Linked DNA regions of Homo sapiens: region 2 is linked to region 1. Evidence: promoter capture Hi-C in 16 types of primary human blood cells and fetal thymus (Javierre and others, 2016). All regions are on one chromosome and are shown on one strand. The core of a region is centred on a gene start or on the middle of the fragment in contact, and the rest is flanking DNA. Distances in the headings are between cores, read along the strand shown.

Region 1 (5,872 bases), core at 671-3,170:
AAGAGCAAAATCTTACAACATAATGTGTTACTTTAAGAGGTAGAAATTAACCATCAGGTTCCCTGAAAGGCATAAATGGAATGCATAAGTTATGCTATTATTCATAGAGAAGGTAATAAGTAAATTTGAAATTCCATACAAAGCAAAAATACAATGAGTGTGGGCACACTGTAGCTTTAAGAAAAGTGTTGACTGTTTCAGGTCACAAAGACACTATTTAGAGTATAGCAAGTGTGACCATGTGTCCAACAGGCCAGCAGTCATGTGTCTACGCAGAGTGGGCAATTCATACTCTCCCACTGGAAGGATGAAACCCATTGTATTAAAGAGCTTAAAAGTACGTACCCTGATAGTTTCATTTGTAAGAAAAGTAAACATTGCTGTCAGTTATTATCAGCAAGACAAAACAAGAGCACAGTGTCAAATGTCAGTCTTTTTCTCCTTAAGAAAGATATAAAAAATCACTCGAATAGACATCTTAGTTCTTGTTTCCTCCTACAATTAATTGTCCGGGGGCGGGGGGACGGGGTGCGGGCGGGGCGAGGGAGACATACAAGAAATCTGTGAGAAAAAAAGGGGCGGGGGAATAAGTCTCCTTGCCTCAAGATTTTAGAAAAAAAGTTGTAAACCTATTGCAGATGAAGGCTCCCACAATTTATTTTTCCTGCTTCTATAAGCATAAATAGTTAATGATAAAAATGGTAAGAGGCATTGACAAAGAGCTCCTAGAATGTCTACAAATTAAGGTGAGTGATCAAACACAAGGTTAGGCCTAGACAGCTTAAGTGTCCTCCACAAATCAGGATAAGCGTTAACAGGACATTAACCTGGAAGCCTTTACCAAACTCTAATTTGGATATAATTTTACCTCACTAAATCCCTCACCTTCAATCAAAACTCCTTTCCCACGTGCCCTTCAGAGTCCACGAAGTTGCTGCCAGATCCCAGCTTAAATCACGTTTCGCTTTCACAGATCTCCCTCCCGGGCAAGGTGGTGGGGTGGATAATGAAGTTTGGCACCTGGTATAAAGGGCCCCAGTAGGTTAGGATAGGAACTACCACTTCTCAGGTGTGTTTTCTTTTTCCGGAAGAGGGCAAGACCAGTAGAGAACTGACTCAGCGTCTCCGACACGAGGAGAGCTGCACGCAGACAAAACAGACCCGGGGGGTGAAAAGTGGAAGTAAACTGGTGTTTGTGGCACCACTGATTTACACCTTCTCTGACTTCTCCAATATTTTTTTCCCCAAGTGACTCAATCTTCTCACCCAAACCAGGCCAAATGAGGGGTTAGTTGTTCGACTTCTTCTCAGAGTGCCTCTCTTCTTCCTCACACTCTCCACGCCTCCTCTCCGCACCCGCCACTTCCCCCCCGACCCTTAAGTTAAGGGCTCATGCCCAACTAGATCCTAATGTCCACGACGAGCAGCTCCAGTCTAGGGGGGGTTGCCTAGAAGTAGGTCTGACGCCGAGCAATCTAATCTCCCACGTCTGATCTCTCAGGCTATTGTGCCTCGAGGGGAAGTCAGAACAGGTGAGGGCGGCTTGAGGGAACCAGTTCCGGGACAGGCAACGCACAGGGCGGCGAAAGTGAGGGTGCGGGGCAAGGAACGGAGGGAGGGACAAAGGCGCGATAAGAGGAACGAGGGCGCCCCCCGAGCGCCGCCTATCTCCTCAGGATCACCTTGCGCTGACCTAGTTACACCGAGAAGGAAGGAACCCCAGTAGACCAGGGAGGAAGGCGGGGCGGGATGTGGGCGGGGCCGCGGGTGGGGCGGGGCTTAGAGTGGGATCTTTATGGAGCTCGCCTGTGATTTGCAGATGGATTCGAGACGGAAGCGGGCTGGGAGGCGTCGGCGGCGGCAGCGCACGTGGTGACGTGCGAGGGGGTGCGGCGCGAGCGGTCGGCGGCGGCGGAGGCAGTGTCTCCCGGTCGCGCGTGGAGGTCGGTCGCTCAGAGCTGCTGGGCGCAGTTTCTCCGCCTGCTGCTTCGGCGCGGCTGTATCGGCGAGCGAGCGAGTTCCCGCGAGTTCTCGGTGGCGCTCCCCCTTCCTTTCAGTCTCCACGGACTGGCCCCTCGTCCTTCTACTTGACCGCTCCCGTCTTCCGCCGCCTTCTGGCGCTTTCCGTTGGGCCGATTCCCGCCCGCTTCCTCCTGCTTCCCATCGAAGCTCTAGAAATGAATGTTTCCATCTCTTCAGAGATGAACCAGGTAATACGCGCTGGTTCTACGAACGACAGATGAGGGAGACGGCGCGGCTAGAATCCGAGAAGAAGGGATGGCGCCGGCGGATGGGAAGAGGGTGGGAGGCGCGGAAGCGGTGTCCTCATCAGGGGAGGCAGCCCCAAGCGGCCGCCGCCGCCCTCTGGGACGTGAAGCCCGCGCCGCGCTGGGCCCGCGCTCCAGCGCTGCCATGGTTGCCAAGTTGCGTTGGCGGCCGAGAGCGGGCGCCGGTCGCCTCGGAGAGCGCGGAGGCTGGAGCCCCTTTGCTACACTGGCGCGGGTGAGGCAGGCTGGGAGGAACAAGAGTTTTTTGTTCGAAGGGTTTTGGGGGGCCTGGGTTAGGGCGCCGCGGGCGGGGATGACCCGCCGGAAGGAGGGCGCGGGACTCCCCGTTCTTGCTGTCAGGAACGGACGCCTCGCCTCGGGTTTGCCTGGGGTTTGGGATTCTCTTCTGGAAGAGCTCTCGAGACTCGGCTCGTGTGGGCGGGCAGCCAGCCCCGGGCCTGGAGTAGGGTGGCACGGAGTCCCCGATCGCCGTGGGCCGCGGGGTCCTTTGTTCCCGCTCCACGTTGCCCGCTTTTCTTGCCAAGCGCGGGGAGAAGGGGGCGGGAGGAGGGAGGGAGCGGCTGCCCTGACGTGTCGGTACTGAGTGACTGCGGGGCTGGCCAATCCGGGGCGGGGGTGTGCGGGTGCTGGGGGCCTCGCCTCGCAGCCTGCGGAGTGGGCGCCGGCCTGGCTGCGCGAGGAGGAAGGCCTGGGACGCTCTTTCTTTTTTATGAAAGAAATCAGTGGCAAGATTTGCTCTTTTTCCGTCCCTCCACGCTTTTGGTTAAGTGTCTCTGATTATAAGCTCTTGATGATAGGAAGGTATCAGGCTGAGGGTTGAACCTAGGGTAACTTGAACCACTACTTGAGAACTACATTTACTTTTTCCCCCAATAGGTAGTGGACATATCTATTGGTTTGAGACAGCTGACATTTCAAGGAGAAATCAGATGTCCAAAAGGGCGCATTTTTGTGATGGAGCGTGCAGTGATGGAGCGTTAGAACACCTTGGCATCAAGCTGTTCGTTGAGTGTGTCGTGGTCTTCTGTCTACTAATAGATGACAACTCTGGAAGCCTAGTACCACTCTTAACAGATGAATAAGTACAGCATGGACTAGACTGCCACAGGCCATGCTTTCTTTTAATAATTCTAGCACCAGTGATTGATTTAGGAAAAACAAAATACTGATGATTACTTTTAGGCTAAAGCCTGCTGACACTTCTGTCTTAAAGATACTGAAAGAGTAGTTGTATTTGTTAAGTCTGGACGTGAGGTAAACATGGACTTTAGAATTGAATTGAGACTAGTATCATTTAACGCCAGCTGGCAGGCTGCTTATCAAGCTTATAATTTGGTAGCCAGAGGTAAACGGAACTTGAGCCACTGACCAAAGAGAGCCCTGGAATGGTTTTCCTCTGTGTTTTCCTAATAGATGATATCTCTGGTTAACTAATAGATACTAATTTCTATAGCCATTGTCTTAATTTGTAGTTGATTTTCTAACTTTCCCCCCAAGACAAAACATTTCAGGTTTTAGTCTTAGTTTTAAATTAGTGTCTTTTTGGCTACTTGCTTTTGGAAGGTGGGATTTTTTCTTGCTTGAAGGATTTGTTAGATGGTAATTAAATGTAGTTTTGCAAATACGTTTTTAAATATAAATGTTTTCCTGTTAAGGAAGTATCTTAATTGATATTAAGATGAAGTAACACTAAGTAAGTCATTTCATCCACTTTTTAGCAGTGCGATTGTATAGTCAAATCCTGCAAGTAGGAATTATTAAAGGTTGGGGGTCTTCCCACCATGTCATGTGCATGTGCTAGTGTGTGTGTAGATTGAAGTATTGTGAGTAAGAGATTGATTTCTGGGTTTTTGTTAAAACAACAGAAAATACATACTTGTAAACTACAAGTTGTATATCTTGTAAATGTTTCTGAACCTATACTTAACATCATACTATTATATTTTTGTTATTAACATGCAGATACCTCAGCATTAGAACGTCTCAAACCAAATTCTTCCTTTCCTTCCTTCCCTTCTCCATGTAGCAAACTATAAACGACTTTGTGTTATGCTTTTTGGTAATTGATTTTAATAAGGATGCCACATATCTTAATTTTGATAATTGATGTTAATAAGGATGCCACATATCTAAGATAAAATATCTTAAGTCCTCACTGCCTTAAAGGAGCATGGGTGTACAGAATCTTAACTGCCCTGTTTCCATGCTTTACTCATTCCTCTAGACCATCCCCCACACTTCTGCTAGGATGCCCTATGCTTCCTTGTTTAAATCCTTCACCTACTTTCCATGCTTAGCATTGTTTAAACCTTGGAATTAGGCTCTCTTACTTCCTCGCCCACTATTACCATATGCATCCTGCAAATCTACAATCTATTGAAACTGAAATAGCTGCAGTTTCTGGAATATATTTGCTATCATACCTTTTTTCCTTTCTGCTTAAGCTATTTCACAGCTTGTTTTATCTTTCTGACTGGCCTGTGAAGTGTTCCAGGCTAGAGAACTGAGTTAACTTCTATTGTGTTATGATATGAGCATTCCATTTCAGTTTGTGCCTTCCATATGTTTGGTGCTACATATGTTTGTGTTGTAGTGAAAGAATTACAAAACTATGAGCATGGATAGAATGAATGAGTTCAGCGAGTTTTCATATACATGGATGGTGATGGTGGTTTTAGAGGTTACTTTGGAAAGCTGTAACTTCTGGTTTTAAAAAGATGTGTTGATTTACTTTGTATTATAAAGTCTTTCCTTTAAAAATGCAGCTGATGGCTACTTGGTGGGAGCTGACTGCCCTCAAACGATTGTCTTTTGTTTTATCTTGGTCTTACTGAAGGCCAGAGAAAAATTTTAGCAGAGGCCATATTGTGCCTACCTTTTTAACAACTCTTTGATAAGACCTGTTGAATTGTATTTCACTTAAGCTAATCTTTCCGGGCTGTGAACTTCTGGGTGTTATTAAAGCAGTTTAATTACTCATTTATGAGTCTTCGGTATCCCTTGCAGTGGCCATAGAAGTATGCTGAATTTATCTGAATATATTGTATTTGATCCTAGTTTTAATTTTAAATGTGTAAGAAAAGTGACCTAGGTGTAGATTTAGTTGAAAGTGTATTTTAAACACCAAACAATTCTACGTTTCATACTCTTATATGACTCTGGGATGTCTGGACTTTTGGTTTGGATTTTCAAAGAAAACAATTTTCCCCATTTTTTAATTCCACTAGTTATCGTGCTTGAGTTTTATAGACCAAATAAGATCTCCCGTCAATTTGGGGAGTAGTTTAAAACTCTTGATTTGCCCTAGCTCACTTTAATGAAAGTAAATAGGAACTTTCAAAAACATGGTTTTACAGACAGGAATTGATCTGATCCCCTCCAAACTTGAGGTGGGCGGGAAGTAGGTATATAGTGTATGAGGACAATAATTGAATAAAGTAAGTTTGCATTAACTTAAATGTCATCTAGATTTGGGCTGGCTTTTAAAATCAAGTAGCTTTGTACTCTGATCAGTAGATATTAAAGAGATGAGGTTCATATTATGACCTTGATGTACTAAAAATCAGGTACTGTCATGGAATTAG
Region 2 (5,832 bases), core at 366-2,865, 1.1 Mb before region 1:
TCTTGGCTCATTGCAACCTCCGCCTCCCAGGTTCAAGCAATTCTCCTGCCTCAGCCTCCCAAGTAGCTGGGATTACAGGCACCTGCCACCACACCTGGCTAGTTTTTCATATTTTTACTAGAGACGGGGTTTCACCATGTTGGCCAGGCTGGTCTTGAACTCCTGACCTCAGGTGATCCACCCACCTTGGCCTCCCAAAGTGCTGGGATTACAGGCAAGATTTTATTTTTTTTTTAAATATAACTACACACTGCTCCATAATCAAACACATACACAGACACAAATATATGTCCATATATATATATATATATATCTACATACACAGAAACACGTTTGAGTTTAAAAGATTTAAAGATTTAAAGTTGATTGGAAAAGGAAATAAATCTTTTATTTATTAAAGAAAATTCTTTTTCTTAAAACAAACAAACAAAAACGCAGAATGTGCAAGTCTGTCACATAGGTTTACGTGTGCCATGGTGGCTTGCTGCACCTATTGACCTGTCCTCTAAGTTCCCTCCCCTCACCCCCAACCCCAGAAAAGGAAATAATTCTATTTTTACCTTATTCTAACATTATTTATTTGATGATATATAATTCATTCAATAAATACTTGTAAGTGAATTAATTTAGTCATTATTCCCACTCACCCATCCCAAATCTGTTTCTTCCTCGTGTAATGCCAACAGTATCCTCCTAGACACCCAGACTAAAAATCTCAGTCATCTTTAGCTACTTTCTCCCTATGTCTCTTCTCTCTACTCATTCACTAAATCTTCTTGATTCTAGCTCTTTTTTGAAATAAAACTTAAACATATAAACAAAAAAATAAGATAACCTGGCAGGCATGTTCTGTGGCCCATTCTTCATCCAAGTTATCCAACTTAGCTTTGGGATGTTTGAGGTTCTCACTTTGCTCCTCTTTGGGTGGCGTTCTAGTGGCAAGAATCACATAATCCTTTTGTGACGAACACTTCAACAACAAATTAAAAAGCTTGTTAGAGTGATATCTGATTCCTCAATCTAATTAGAGTGATACCTAAATTCCTTAGCTTTTATGACATGCAAAAACTGAGTAATATTTGTAACAGGTTAAATCATTAATACCCACATTATAATGGAAGCTAAAGGGAAGCTAATTTTCAAGGATGGCCTTACAATCTTTCCCTCACATGTTGTTTATCTTTTAATGTATTTAATATCAGCTTCTTATTTATTTGGACAACTCAAATGTAAATCATGGAGTGGTCCCTAAAAATGGTTTACTGGATGAGTGAATGAATTACATTAACTAAAAAGTAATATGCTTATTCAGTTTTCTAGTTATATTTGTTTTATAAGTTATAAATGAACAGATCGGAAAATATTAGTAAAATGAAACAACAAGTGACCTTTTGTATCTTATTTTAATTGAAATGATGACAGTAGGGAACTTCCACATACATTTCCACAGAATAACAAAGGGGATTTGGGACACAATTTAAAGTGATACAGATTCTATGTTCCTCAAGTTTTTTGTTTTGTTTTGTTTTTTGTTCTTTGTGTGTGTGTGTATTTATTTATTTATTTAGAGACAGGGTCTTGCTCTAATGCCCAGGCTGGAGTGCAGTGGTGTGATCATAGCTCACTGCAACCTTGCACTCCTGGGCTCAAGCAATCCTCCCCCCAAGTAGTCTCCCAAGTAGCTAGGACTACAGGCTCAAACAATCAGCCATAATGCCTGGCTTTTTTTTTTTTTTTTTTTTACTTTTTTGTAGAGACAGAGTCTTGCTATGTTGCCCAGGCTAGGTCAAACTCTGACCTTCAAGCAATCCTCCCACCTCGGCCTCCCAAAGCATTGGGATTACAGGCATGAGCCACCACACCCAATCTGTTCTTCAGCTGTAATATCAGTTAAGTAGTAACCAAAGTTGGGAGATCTAAAAATAAATGTAGGGGAACATTCAATAGCTCAGTTTCACTACAGTGAAAGTTTCCTATAAAAAAAGAGTGAAAATAACACTGCTAATGCAAGTTAGCATTGTATCTTCCCCACACATGACCTGAAACTCTGATCATTAGTATCATCTTGGGATAGAAAATAAGAGTAACTATTCCTACAGGTTATTTTCAGGAAGTTACATTCAAATAAACACAGGAAAAGAAAGTAGGTCTCAGTTAAGAAGGCTCCTCTTTTCTTCATAAAATGTATAACTTTGAAAAGAAAAAGAAACTGACAGAGACCAGGAAACAGGCAAGCTTAAGAGGAAGGAGAGGAAAAAGTAATGAACTCTGGAAGAAAAAGCACGTAGAATACTGAAAGGAATGAATTGCTCTGTCCGTGAGCAATACATACTACAGCATAAAAAGAGATAGAAGGAAGGCCTTAGGCCGGGCGCGGTGGCTCACGCCTGTAATCCCAGCACTTTGGGAGGCCGAGGCAGGCGGATCACGAGATCAGGAGATCGAGACCATCCTGGCTAACACGGTGAAACCCCGTCTCTACTAAAAATACAAAAAATTAGCCGGGCGAGGTGGCGGGCGCCTGTAGTCCCAGCTACTCGGGAGGCTGAGGCAGGAGAATGGCGTGAACCCCAGGGGGCGGAGCCTGCAGTGAGCCGAGATTGCGCCACTGCACTCCAGCCTGGGCGACAGCGAGACTCCGTCTCAAAAAAAAAAAAAAGAAGGAAGGCCTTAAATTATGAGACACTCATTTGTAAGATGGCAGTTTGCCTGAGCTTTAGAAACAACCTTTATCCAGTTAAGACAAATTTAGAAGAGGGTCTTTCTCCCTGACTTTTTATCTCTACTGATCACATCTTTCTCTAAGACTCTTCTTCTCTTAAATGTTTTAAACAAAGAGAAAGAAAAAAACTTAAATAGAAAACTCCTAACAAAAAGAGCCCCACATTACAACTGAATTAAAAAGAAATTCACACTGTTCTCAAGAGAGGCAGTCTGGCTGTCTAATGAGAGGCCTCACAGAGTGGTGCTACCTGGTTGAACCATGTAGATCTGCCCTCTGTCTTGCAAATTAAGAAATCTGATTTGTAAAAATTCTGAAAATGAGCCTGTCTTTCATGGCTAGACTGACATTGATTAAGTTTATTCAGAATGATGTAGAAAACTAAAATGTCATGAAGGCATCTGAACACTTGAGTCCTCTGGACAGTGTATTCTTTATAAGTAGATAACATGGGGCATCAAATTATAAAAGAAAGTAGCTTGGGAATATGGGTAGAATCAGAATAAGGAAAGTTAATTATGTAATTTGAAGATTCTAAGGCATCAGGCTAAGATATCTAGAAAGAAAATTGTCCCAATAAGAGCTTTATTGGCTAGTAGGCCTCAAAATCAAGTCCTTGGGCCAAAGTGCACTCTCCTGTGTTTGGATGGACACAGTCAGCTTGCCTGTGTGACTCTCCTTTTTTTTTTTTTTTGGCTTTGTACTGCTGACCGGTCCCTCCTGCCGATTAACACGTTCTTCCTTCACTCATAAGAAATCAGTGGCATGGGTTTTAAAATAAGTATCTGAATCTCTGTTCCATTTTGTGTTTTTAAGACTCAGCTCTAAGAGGAAATTAGAATTTGTCTAATTTCCAAATTTTTCCCAATCCCTCTCCCTCCCTATTGATCCAACAACAACAACAAAAAATTCAGTAAGATGGGTACTATAGCTTACAACAAAAATATGACCACTGTTGCCATAAGTCTGATATAAGACAACACAAATTAGAACAGGAATAAAATTTTCAAAAGCTTCTTTTGTAAAGAACTGGACAACCAGATATTAAAAAGATTAGAAGGGAATACAAAACACTTTGGAAAGACAACAAAATGTGAAAAATCTGGTCAATAAACATTCTAATTCTGAAGTTTCCATATTATAAATTACGTTTACATGGTCAAAGGGGAAGGTGTCCTGACGAGCAAAATTGGGCTAGGTTTGTCTACTTCTCCATGTTTCCTCAAAGACCTACTTTAAAGTTACTTCTTCCACATTTCTTCTTCCATCCCCCAATCTTGAGTTTATTATTAAATAGCATCTTTTAACTTTAAATCAACAAGTAATTTTTAAAATAAATTACAGAGTAATTATTTAGTTATAAATGCAGAGTAAAAGATACATACCTGTCCTATTAAAAGGCCAGAGACAAAAGCCTTTCCTTGGAGATTTATGTTTGAAAGATACTGGCCAACAGTCTCTTCTACAATGTAGGTTCTTCCCATTTTTAGGAACTAAAATCTCCTATATCACAAGAAGAAAAGATACAGCATTTAGGTAAAATATCATTTGCAATGTCTTTATCATGGGAGTAGTTTAGCAAGAGAAGTGATACTATCCTGAGGCTATCTCATGCCTTGCAGCAAATACTTATTACATAGTGTATTCCTTCTTGCAAAGTTCAGATGCAGTTCCAGAGTTCTTCTCAATACAATGCAGCAGGAAACAACCACAAATCAACCAGAGTTGACATGAGAGATCAAACCTTTTACTCATACCTGGGATAAGGGAGAGGATACTAAACTAGTAAGCAACACACCAGATTTCTTTTTTTTTTTTTTTTTTTTGAGACGGAGTTTTGCTCTTGTCACCCAGGCTGGAGTGCAGTGGCGCAACCTCGGCACACTGTAACCTCTGCCTCCCAGGTTCAAGTGATTCTCCTGCCTCGGCCTCCTGAGTAGCTGGGGTTACAGGGGCTCACGACCATGCCCGGCTAATTTTTGTGTTTTTAGTAGAGACGGGGTTTCACCATGTTGGCCAGGCTGGTCTCGAACTCCTGACCTCAGGTGATCCGCCCGCCTCGGCCTCCAAAGTGCTGGGATTACAGGCGTGAGCCACCATGCCCAGCCAACACACCAGATTTCTTATTTTAGATCTACTCCCTAGTTGTATTATCTTTGATACTCTATTGCTAAGTCTTGGTGTTCTCATTGCTAAAATCGTAAACATGAATTTCTGAATAGTTCATTAGGAGGTAGAGTCAAATTCATTTACTTGATAAGCATATATGAAAGAACTATACTATTTGCTTAGAAACTATGCTAAGTGGGATAACACAAAGATGAGCAACACAATCTCTGTCCTTGAGCAATACATACTACAGTAAGAGTTATTTAAGTAGATAAATAGCAATACAATAACAACATATAGCTTCTACTTTGTACAACGCATTATTGTAAGTACTTTCCATGTAACATTAATAATTCATAAAACCCCAGGAAGTGGGTACCATTATTATAATCCTCATTTTATAGATGAAGAAACTGAAATGAGAAAAGTTGATTAAATAACTTGCCAAAGTGACAAAGCTGGGTAAGTGGCAAAGGAGGGACTTAAATTCAGACACTCTGGCTCTAGAATCCATGTTTTTCAACACCACGCTCATAATGAGGAATCGTAACCAGTCCTTCAATTAAATCATTACTACGGGTAGCTCTTACTCTGTTTTCCCTCTGGTCTGTGGATGGAAGTCAGTATATTCATTCCCTCTATTGGCTTATGCTCCTTTGATTTGCATTTCTATAGCTTAAAACCAAAGATATTGAATAAAAGAGCTAGGCAATATAATGAATGATTAAATCAAGGAGTTCATAATCAGTGAGGATGAAAATGTAAAAGAGATGATATCCAAAAGAGCTATAAAACAAACAGAGACTGCAGGAACACAGTTACAGTATTTTGAACACTGCAATTTAGGAATCATCATCATTTGGATTCTGTTAAAAATGTGAATCTTATTCAGTACCACAAAGTTAAGGCTACCAGAGATATGCTGGGGTGGTATATCTGATACCAGTAAACTGTCAGTCACAAAACGGTTTTGCATTTTAAAACTAAAGCCCAGAGAATGG

Evidence for each region. The method cuts DNA at HindIII sites, captures the fragments that hold promoters and counts their contacts. A CHiCAGO score of 5 or more calls a contact.
Region 2: a contact is called between a fragment that was not itself captured here and the fragment with the promoter of IVNS1ABP in region 1, in 1 of 17 cell types (fetal thymus). The highest score is 8.2, in fetal thymus.

Annotation. Positions count from the first base shown.
Region 1 is chr1:185,313,291-185,319,162 of GRCh38, reverse strand. IVNS1ABP (influenza virus NS1A binding protein) reads left to right here and starts at 1,920. Exons shown (of 15, transcript NM_006469.5): 1 at 1,920-2,210. It overlaps CBSLR (CBS mRNA stabilizing lncRNA), which reads right to left and starts at 1,711. Exons shown (of 4, transcript XR_007066771.1): 1 at 886-1,711. RefSeq lists enhancers at 902-981, 1,232-1,331, 1,981-2,594 and silencers at 1,662-1,971, 2,432-2,491. The HindIII fragment of the contact is 11,176 bases long and covers 1-3,614 here.
Region 2 is chr1:186,378,160-186,383,991 of GRCh38, reverse strand. It overlaps ODR4 (odr-4 GPCR localization factor homolog), which reads right to left. Exons shown (of 14, transcript NM_017847.6): 2 at 4,108-4,225; 3 at 836-970. The coding sequence starts at 4,206. Among named protein-coding and RNA genes, the nearest start is that of ODR4, 5.2 kb to the right of the region's middle. The HindIII fragment of the contact is 1,244 bases long and covers 994-2,237 here.